3 separate regions of the Homo sapiens genome follow, and all the other regions are linked to region 2. The links are contacts of gene promoters, found by promoter capture Hi-C in human tissues and cell types (Jung and others, 2019). All regions are on one chromosome and are shown on one strand. Each heading gives the region's core, a stretch centred on a gene start or on the middle of the fragment in contact. The rest is flanking DNA. Distances are from core to core; before and after follow the strand shown.

Region 1 (2,949 bases), core at 154-2,653, 560 kb after region 2:
TCTAGGCTCTTCTTTATTGTTTCGCCAGATGCTCTGGTTCCTTCATTTAAAAACTGTATGTTAAATTATAAGAATATGCCATGATTGACTGGGCACAGTGGCTCACACCTGTAATCCCAGCACTTTGGGAGGCCAAGGAAATGGATCACTTGAGGCCAGGAGTTCGAAACCAGCCTGGCCAACATAGCGAAAACTCATCTCTACTAAAAATACAAAAATTAGTCGGGTGTGGTGGTGCACACCTGTGGTCCCAGCTACTTGGGATGCTGAAACATGAGAATCACTTGAACCTGGGAGGTGGAGGCTGCAGTGAGCTGAGATCGTACTGCTGCACTCCAGCCTGGGTGACAAGGCAAGACCCTGTCTCAAAAAGAATATGCCATGACTTATTGTTAACCTATTCACTTCCCAGTATTTCTGTTGTGTTCATATTTTTACTCTTTAAAACACTGCCTCAATAAACATCTTTGTGTGTGTCTCTTTTCCTCACAAGGGAGAATTTCTAGTCTAGGATATGTATCTCCTAGTGGTATTGCTGAGACATGAGATATGCTTAGCTTTGATTTTACTGGATATTGCCAAATTACTCCCCAAAATAATTATACCAAGTTACCCTCTTGCCAGCAGTGTATAAAAGTTCTAATTCCCCTCTGCCAGATTTCTCAATTTTTGCCAGCCTAATTGGTAGGAAACAGTATTACATTGTTTTATTTTGCAATATTCTGACTTCAAGATTGAGCATCTTTTCATTTACCTACCAGTCTTCTTTGTCTAGCAATCAATCTCCACTCAATTGCTCACTTAAAACACTATATCACTATATTAAGTATCTACCATATGCCTGGCATTAATTAGCAGGGTAATAAAAAGAGCTATCAAAACAGACATGGACTCTTGCCTTCCTGGAACTCACCATCTAGTGTAGGAAAAAGAAAACCAAATAATCACAAATACAAACTGTGGTAACATGGAGGACATTAACAGTAATCCATGAAAATTTTTAAAAGGGAGACCAATGTAATTGAAATAGGAGAGTCAGCAAAACCTTTCCTGAAGCACCATTTGCATTTTAACAGATGAGTAGGAATTAACCACCTTAGTATTTTTAAAAAGTGCTCAATCTTGAAGTCAGAATACTGCAAAGTGAAAAGCCTACTGCAGCTATTAAAAAAACCAAGCATCACCACCATCAATATGCCTAAAAGTGCAGAAGTCTTTTCTCATCTTCCATGGAGGTGCGCTAGATGCTCTGGCAGGTAAAAGTATATCATACATATTTTAGGTTTCTTTAATGCAAGCAACAAACATAAAAAATTAGCTTGAGCAAAAAGGAGAAACTGTTGGACTGATGGGGAGCTTCCTGAATCCCAAGGAGAGCTTCAGAAATTGAGCCAGGTCTAAGGACATCAGGAAATAGAAACAAGAACACCATCATGTCAACCTTGTCCTCTCCTACTTCCCATCTCTGGTAAGAAATCAGGTTCCAGGAAGCTCTAGGCCTTTATCTTTTGGCCTAGCAACACAAAAGCCCAAAGTAGGGCTCCTTCCAGCTCTACTTGGAAAAAATTCTGGCAAAGGACTCTGATTAGCTGAACTAGGTCTCATGCCTGCCCCTAAAACTATCAGTGAGCCCCAGGGACATCCTGATTTAGGTTCCTACAGTCAATACAATCAGATTGTTGCAAGAGGAAAAGGGGGAAAATGCTGGGCAAAGACAAGAACTACCACCACACCGCTAACCAGAAGTTATAAGGATTGAATGACAGATGTGAAACACCTAGCACAATGTCTTTAAAGTAGTAAGCATTCAATAAATGGTAGCTATTAACTCACCTGGCTGTGATGAGTTTAGCAGTTAATTCCTCCCTCTTGGTGCACCACTCTTTAATCTTAGCCAAGTTCTGAAAATTGAAAACGACAAACTGACTCCCATTCAACTCAGAAGGCTATTTATTGAAAGAATACAATGATGTTACAAGGATGCATTTCACGTAGCCCTAAAAGGCTGGGTATCCATAAGTGCATGGTTCATGGCTGTTGGGACTAAGAAAGCCTTCTGGTCAATGAGCCACACATATGTCCTGGGCTCCCTCCCTGTCAATGAAGATGTGCTGAGTTTCAGAGTGGTGGCTGGATCTAGGCCAAGCACCAAACACAAACCAGTACTCTCCTTTGGGTCTTCTGGAACTAAGGTTTTATAAACTTCCGTAACAGTGGGGGCAGCACTCAGTTGGTTACAATTCATGCCATTCCTGAAAGTAGTCCACTATGGGGATCCCCAAACAACCAGTAGCATAATGAGTTCCTGACAGGCATCCTAGCCAATCAGTAGGGAGGGTCTGAGTAGAATTACCCATTGTCAAACTATGTATCAGATAATAGAAGCACAGCCTTGGCATTGTGTGTGAGCTAATCATGGTGCACCATAAACAAGGTGTTTTGGATGGTCAGCATCTCAGAAGGGCAGATCTGCCATTGAATATTCCATTTTGCATCACAGAGGAGAGACTAATTGAGCTACACATATTACATTTCAGCCCCCATGCACAATTTTTTCCCTGCAAAGAATGAAGAATACTTGGGTGCTGCTGCATGCCATCCATGATGAGAGAAAGGCAATGAATCCTGCTATGTGGCATGCAAAGAATCCAGTAGGAAAGGTTCACCATCAATACGACCAATATCTTGCCCCATGATTCATATTTAGGGCTGGGAAAATTTATCTATCTTTGGGAGGCAGCTCTTGTGTAAAAGGAATCAATGTCCAGTTGTGCCCAAATTGGTCTGCATGGTCAATGTCAACACACCAACAAAGGTTCTGGAAGTTCCTTTAGGATAGCCCATGGGAGTCATTAGGGGATGGAGCAGGCCACTGAAGCTTAGCTGATGCTTTACTAATAGAAAAGCATTATACAACTAAAATAAATTGATGTGTGTGTGTCTTGCTCT
Region 2 (2,854 bases), core at 36-2,535:
CCAGCAAACCTCAGTTTCCAATGACAGGCAGTGAGATGTCACATTTCTAGGTAGGACCCTTCTAATCAACATTACACAGATTGAAACTGAGCTTCTCTTATCAGTTAGGAGATCTCAGAAGTTTGGTAGTTCTAAGCAACTTCAGAGGGGCTAGGAAGTCACTCAATCAGTTTGATTATAAAAGACATACAAGCTTCTTGAACTTCAGAAGAAATTAACATCAAAACACCATATCAGACTCCCAAATGACTTACTTTCTCCTGAAAGTAGTTTGCTGACAAGTTATAAATTTCCACAGTGCCATCTGTTCGTGAAACAGCCAATCTGTTTGACTGGTTATTGTAAGCCACACAGCGGATTCCTGATGGAACATAATTAAAGAAACGTACTCGATGGACCTTAAATTCACCCATTCCTAGGGGGCGAAAAGAGAGTCATTATTGCTATATGTTAACTGCAGTATGTCACATATAGTATTCAGTTCCTTAATATCACTGTTCTGGCTGGAAGGCTCCAACAACATCTCCCTGAAGTTCATTTCCAAATGGCTGCTAACAATGCCCCCCACAAGAATTACTCAATCTTCAAAAGCTCAGAATGGCTTGAATAATAAGGAGGCTTCAGCAAAAAATCAAAAAGGGTCCTACTCCATAGCTCCAGAGTTCCTATCTCGGGGCGCCTAGGAATCCGCATTTTAGCAAGCATCTCTCCTCAACTCTATTGCTAAGTTTGCAAACAACAGACCTAAACTGAGGTAGTGACAGTGAGGCTGATGGGGCAGGCAGAACCGAGCTCCTCTTGAGGAAGAAACGACAGGGTTTGACTTAATCTGGCTGCCTGGTCTGACGTCTGTCACTTACCCTACCCCGTCCCCCCGACGCCCGCCAACATATATACTGGCCGAGAGTAGAGACCAGGTCTTGTTCGCCCCTCACTGGCCTAGCTTCAAGGTTAGGAACCCGCAGACAGAGCAAGCGCGTTCGGTCGGGCCGGGGCGTCTGAGGCGCGCGCGGTCTTCGCCTCCCCTTCCCTCTCCCCGAGTCTACAGAGTAGCCCCCACCCCGCCTCGGGACAAGGAGACCCTCGGGACAAGGAGCTCAGCCGGACGCCGACCCTGGGCCGGCCACCTTGTAAGACCCCCCCAGCTCTCGCAGCCGCTTCCCACGCCCCTTCCCCAACTCACCAGCGGCCCCACGCTCCCCTTCCCGGTGCTCGCCTCTCTCCGCCCCGGCCCCACGTGCGCGCGCGCTCTCAGGCTCTGCCCCGGAAGTGCTCCTGGCGCATAGTCGGAAGTGCGCAGGCAGTGCTCGCGGCGGCGGCGACGGCGGCGGGAGGTTCGGTTGTCGCCCGTTGGCCGCGCGGCGCCGCGCTCGGCGGCCGCCATTGCAGGTCAGGCCGCGGGCGGGGGGCACGGGAGGCTGCGGGGAGCGAGGGCCGAGCCGGGATTGGGGGCGAGGGCGCGAGGGAGCGGGAAGCTAGGGAGCCGGGGCCGGGCGGGGCGCGCGGCTCGGAGAGAAGAATGGCGAGCCGAGGGGCGGGGAGCGCGGGCGGGGGAGGGGTGGCCGGGAAGGGGGAGGGCGGCGGGAGGGCGGCGCGGAGGTGGGGGCAAGCCCGGAGGGGCCTCCGGGGTGGGAGGGCCAGGAGTGTGGGGGAAGGGAGCGGTGTGGAGACGGAAGGCGGAGGGAAGGAAGGGAGCGAGCGGGGCGGAGCGGGAGAAGGGCGGAAAGGGTGGCCGAGCGCGGGCGGAGGACGGAGAAGGGGGCGGCGAGGGCCGGAATCTCGAGGTACGTGCGGGAAGGGGCTCTTCCCGGGGTTGGGAGGGAGCCCAGCCCGCTATGCTTGCGGGAGCGGAGTAGAACTGGAACCTAGGAAGTAGCGGGAAGAGCAGAAAGGGGAGTTCGGGGTGGGGGTTAGGACCGTGAGGTTTTGTTCCAGGTAACATTTGTAATCGTGGAGGGGGGAGGCTTCTGGGAGAGGTAATTGGAAGGGTGGTTGGAGAGTCATTCCAGGTTCTTTTGTGGGAGGGAAGCCGAGAGACGAGTGGGGTGGGGTCCTGGAGGAGTGGAGTACTTGAGAACCGGGAACAATTTGGAGAACGAGGGTGGTAGAGAAAGGACGTTTAAAGAGTAATCTTTGGGAAGAGGGTGAACGGTTTGGAAGACCACTCCAGTGGGTGGTGTGGAGGAAGGCGGTTTAAAGAATAGTTTCCCTGGGAGGCAGGAAAAGGGGTTAAAACAGCTTGTAATTTGGAGGGGGGTGGAGAAGAGGGGGGAAGCGGATTGAGAAGTCCCAGAAAGTGGGTGGGACTAGAAATAGGAAGTGTTTGTAGCTCTAGCAGAAAGGGTGGGAGGGGGCCGAGAGGGAGTGGGTGGAGAAGATGGGGGTGGGTGGGAGGAAGAGCACAGAGGGAGACTCTACGCCGGGCTAGAAAGGAAAGGGTTTGGGGGAGTACAGGGGGCCGTACCATTAAGAGGAGGACAGGCTAAGATGGGGCTGCAGAGTAGCAGAAGATGGAGAAAACTGCAGTAACTCAGATCGACTGAAGCCATCTTTTCCACCCATTGCTACAAATACCAGTAATTGATTCCCTCCAACGTGGGAATCCTAAAATGTGATGGGAAGTATCACGTGTATGCATAGCATCCACACACGTTTTTGAACACACTTCACTAATGTAAAGTTTGGAAGCATTCAATTCCACCAACCCTCCATAAGCCCCTTTTTGGAGGGGAGCAAGATTCTCATTTGGAAACAGGATTTTAGACTTAGTAACATAAGCCTTTCAAGAGACAAGATCCCCTTCAAAAGTATAGACCTGTCCCCTTCAGTTACAAAACCACGATAACACTACAAA
Region 3 (2,760 bases), core at 149-2,648, 680 kb after region 2:
TCCCGCCTCAGCCTCCTGAATAGCTGGGATTACAGGCACGTGCCACCACGCCCAGCTAATTTTTGTATTTTTAGTAGAGACTGGGTTTCACCATTTTGGTCAGACTTGTCTCGAACTCCTGACCTAGTGATCCACCTGCCTCGGCCTCCCAAAGTTCTGGGATTACAGGCGTGAGCCACCACGCCCGGCCCAATTCATTTTCAATTCAACAAATATCTATATTTATATCTCAATAGCTAGTGAGTGCCTACTACGTGCCAGATACTAGACACTGGACTGTAAGTATGAATAATATAGACATGGCCCCTCCCCTGTGGATCTTATAATGAGGAAGACGAGCACATAAACATGCAAGTAGAACAGGGGAAGTAGAGGGTGCTGCTCAAACACAGGGTGGGGCACTCAACAGACAGCCCAGCATCTAGATGTCTTCACAAAACAGGCAATGTCTAGGCTGGGGCTTGCCGACGAGTTAGCTGAGGGCAGGGTGGAGAGGCCCAAGGGAGTAGGAGGCTTCCCAGCTTCCAAAGAAGTTAAGAGTGTTGCAAAAAAGTGGAGTCCAGATCTTGAAGGGGAGAGTGGGCTTAGGTCCGGGGGCATGTGAAGCGCCCTCCGTCTGCTGCGCTGGGGGAGATGCTGCGGTATCCTGGAGTGGTGTGAAGGAGGCCAGGACCTGCGATGGGAAGACGGAGACGGGAAGGCCCTGGTGGCCCAAGGGATGACCAAAAGTGAAGCGCTCCTCTATGACAAGATTGAGACAAAAATAAAGGAATAAAGTTCTGAATGCGGTGGGAGAGTCTCCTCCGTCCTCCCTCACCTTTGCTGGGCAGGAACCAAACCTGCTTGCCCTCGGTTTGCCCCATCACCGACGGGTGTGGTCGGGGGCACAGCTCTTCGCCCTTCTTCTCAGATAGGAAAACTGAGGCCCAGGGTCCTGAGGCAGAAATCAAGGTTTTCTCCTCGAAATGGCCTCCCAAGAGGCTGCCCGGGGTCTCACACGATCCTTCGAGGGTCCTGCGGCCTGCCCCACGCCTCCGCCAGCCATCCTCGGCTGGTCGTCTTTGCTATGGAAACGGTCCTCCCGCCCTGCTCCGCGCCTCCGTGTCTTCAGTGCACTCTGGGAAATGCAGTCCCGCTCTGTTTGCCTACCCGCGGCGTGAGCCCACTCCGCGTCCTTAAAGAACTATAAGTCCCAGAAGGCTGTGCGAAACTCCGCCGGTCTCTGGGGGATGTGGTCTTGAAGGAGAGACCCAGGAACCTGCGGGCGGGGCCGGAGGGAGAGGGGAGGACGCCCCCAATGGGCAGACTCCTGGGCGGGGTCCGGGTCACCATTGGCTCCGGCGGCGCGAGGGAGGCGGGGTCAGAGGAATGAAGCGCGGAGCTGTTCGCCGCTCCAGGTGCTGAGTCTGAGGGAGGCTCCGGACCCGAGAGCCGCGAGAGCCGCCGCCGCTGCGGCCGCCGCCAGATCTGCGGCCGGGAGCCCGGGCTGTGAGGAGCCGGGAGGAGCGGGGTGCGCTGCCGGGCGCTGACCGCCCTCCCGCCCGCCGTCAGAGGTCAGTGCTGCTGAATTCGCTTTTGTTTTCTTGGGGAGCGGGCGAACCGAGGCGTGAGGGGCTGGGGAGTTGACGGGACGTGTTCTCGTTGCTCTCAGGACCGCGGGTCCCGGACAGCCGCCGACTGACTAGGGGCCTCCCGTGGCCGGGCGCCGGAGGTCGGAGCAGCTTGGGTTAGTTTTCGTTTTATCATGGAGAAGGCTCTTGGGTATGAGGGGCGAGGGCTGGGGGTCACCCCCACCCCCCATCTCTCCTGGGAGAGCGAGGAGGCTTGGACCCTCCCTCCCGCTGTGCCTGGCGACGGGGCTGCTCGGATTACTCAGGACGGGAGGATGAGGTGTTGTGGGATGAAGGGACTCGAGGCAGGGGGACCCCTCCCCGCAACACTTCGGCTGCTCGAGGTTACAAAGGAGTCTGGTGGTGATGGATGAGATCGCGGACCGCTCCCCTAGCCCAGACCCTCCCAGGGGTATTCAGGAAGGGCTGCTTGGGATGCAGGGAAGACCCTTGCCCAGGCCCCTTCCTCCACACTCGCCCCCCTCCCTATTCCCCCCTCCTCCCTTGGCCCTAGGGTTTTGTAAAGAGGAGGATCGAGGATGTGGAAGAGACAGAGGACTCTTACCCCTCCCACTTGGACCCTCCTAGGTTACTGGTGAAGGGTGGAATTGGAATGTGGCAGGGAAACGCTGGGAGACCCCTCCCCATCCTTCTCGGAGTCGCGGGTGGAGGAAAGCACTGACACTCGGAATCCCCCGCGCTCGGGCCCGCGCCGAGGGTTGGGTGGCCTGGGTGTGAGAGGTAGTGTAGGGGGATGTACGAGGACAGGAGGGACCCCTCCCCACCTCTCCCCACCTGGGCCTTATCTCCCAGGCCCTCCCTACCTGGATCCAGGCCTGGGGCTCTAAGTCGAGACGACCCGCCCTAGCCCACCACGCCCCGGGGACCGAGCCTCTGGCACCGCAGCTGGGGGCCAATCCCAGATGGGCATGTACAGAGCGGGACGGGGCGGGTCTCCCCTCAAGCACTCAAGAGCTCCAGGTAGACGCTACCCCCAACCTCGTGCCCGCGAATCTTTGGGGGCTGCTCCGCTCCGATGCAGGGCGCACCCCAAACCGAGGCTCGGGGACCTGCTTCCAGGACGCGCGGTGGCTGTTCCAAGGCATGGGGCTTTCGCGCTCGGCCCAGGCATCCTCGAGAGGACAAAGCG

The links. The method cuts DNA at HindIII sites, captures the fragments that hold promoters and counts their contacts. A contact is called where the count stands out against the background at its distance.
Region 1: a fragment that was not itself captured here is called in contact with the fragment with the promoter of CHTF8 in region 2 in 2 of the 25 tissues and cell types used here (lymphoblastoid cells and mesenchymal stem cells).
Region 3: the fragment with the promoter of SMPD3 here is called in contact with the fragment with the promoter of CHTF8 in region 2 in 2 of the 25 tissues and cell types used here (heart right ventricle and stomach).

The regions. Positions count from the first base shown.
Region 1 is chr16:68,566,115-68,569,063 of GRCh38, reverse strand. It overlaps ZFP90 (ZFP90 zinc finger protein), which reads right to left. Exons shown (of 5, transcript NM_001305203.2): 5 at 1,933-2,949. Among named protein-coding and RNA genes, the nearest start is that of ZFP90, 28 kb to the right of the region's middle. The HindIII fragment of the contact is 4,837 bases long and covers 1-2,949 here.
Region 2 is chr16:69,131,019-69,133,872 of GRCh38, reverse strand. CHTF8 (chromosome transmission fidelity factor 8) reads left to right here and starts at 1,285. Exons shown (of 4, transcript NM_001039690.5): 1 at 1,285-1,389. DERPC (DERPC proline and glycine rich nuclear protein) reads left to right here and starts at 1,285. Exons shown (of 3, transcript NM_001002847.4): 1 at 1,285-1,389. It overlaps UTP4 (UTP4 small subunit processome component), which reads right to left and starts at 1,224. Exons shown (of 17, transcript NM_032830.3): 1 at 1,184-1,224; 2 at 255-415. The coding sequence starts at 413. RefSeq lists silencers at 1,176-1,535, 1,556-1,705. The HindIII fragment of the contact is 4,885 bases long and covers 1-2,854 here.
Region 3 is chr16:68,447,146-68,449,905 of GRCh38, reverse strand. It overlaps SMPD3 (sphingomyelin phosphodiesterase 3), which reads left to right and starts at 1,398. Exons shown (of 9, transcript NM_018667.4): 1 at 1,398-1,553. It overlaps LOC124903705 (a long non-coding RNA gene), which reads right to left and starts at 1,066. Exons shown (of 2, transcript XR_007065097.1): 1 at 840-1,066; 2 at 1-741. RefSeq lists an enhancer at 1,031-1,080 and a silencer at 1,181-1,700. The HindIII fragment of the contact is 13,014 bases long and covers 1-2,760 here.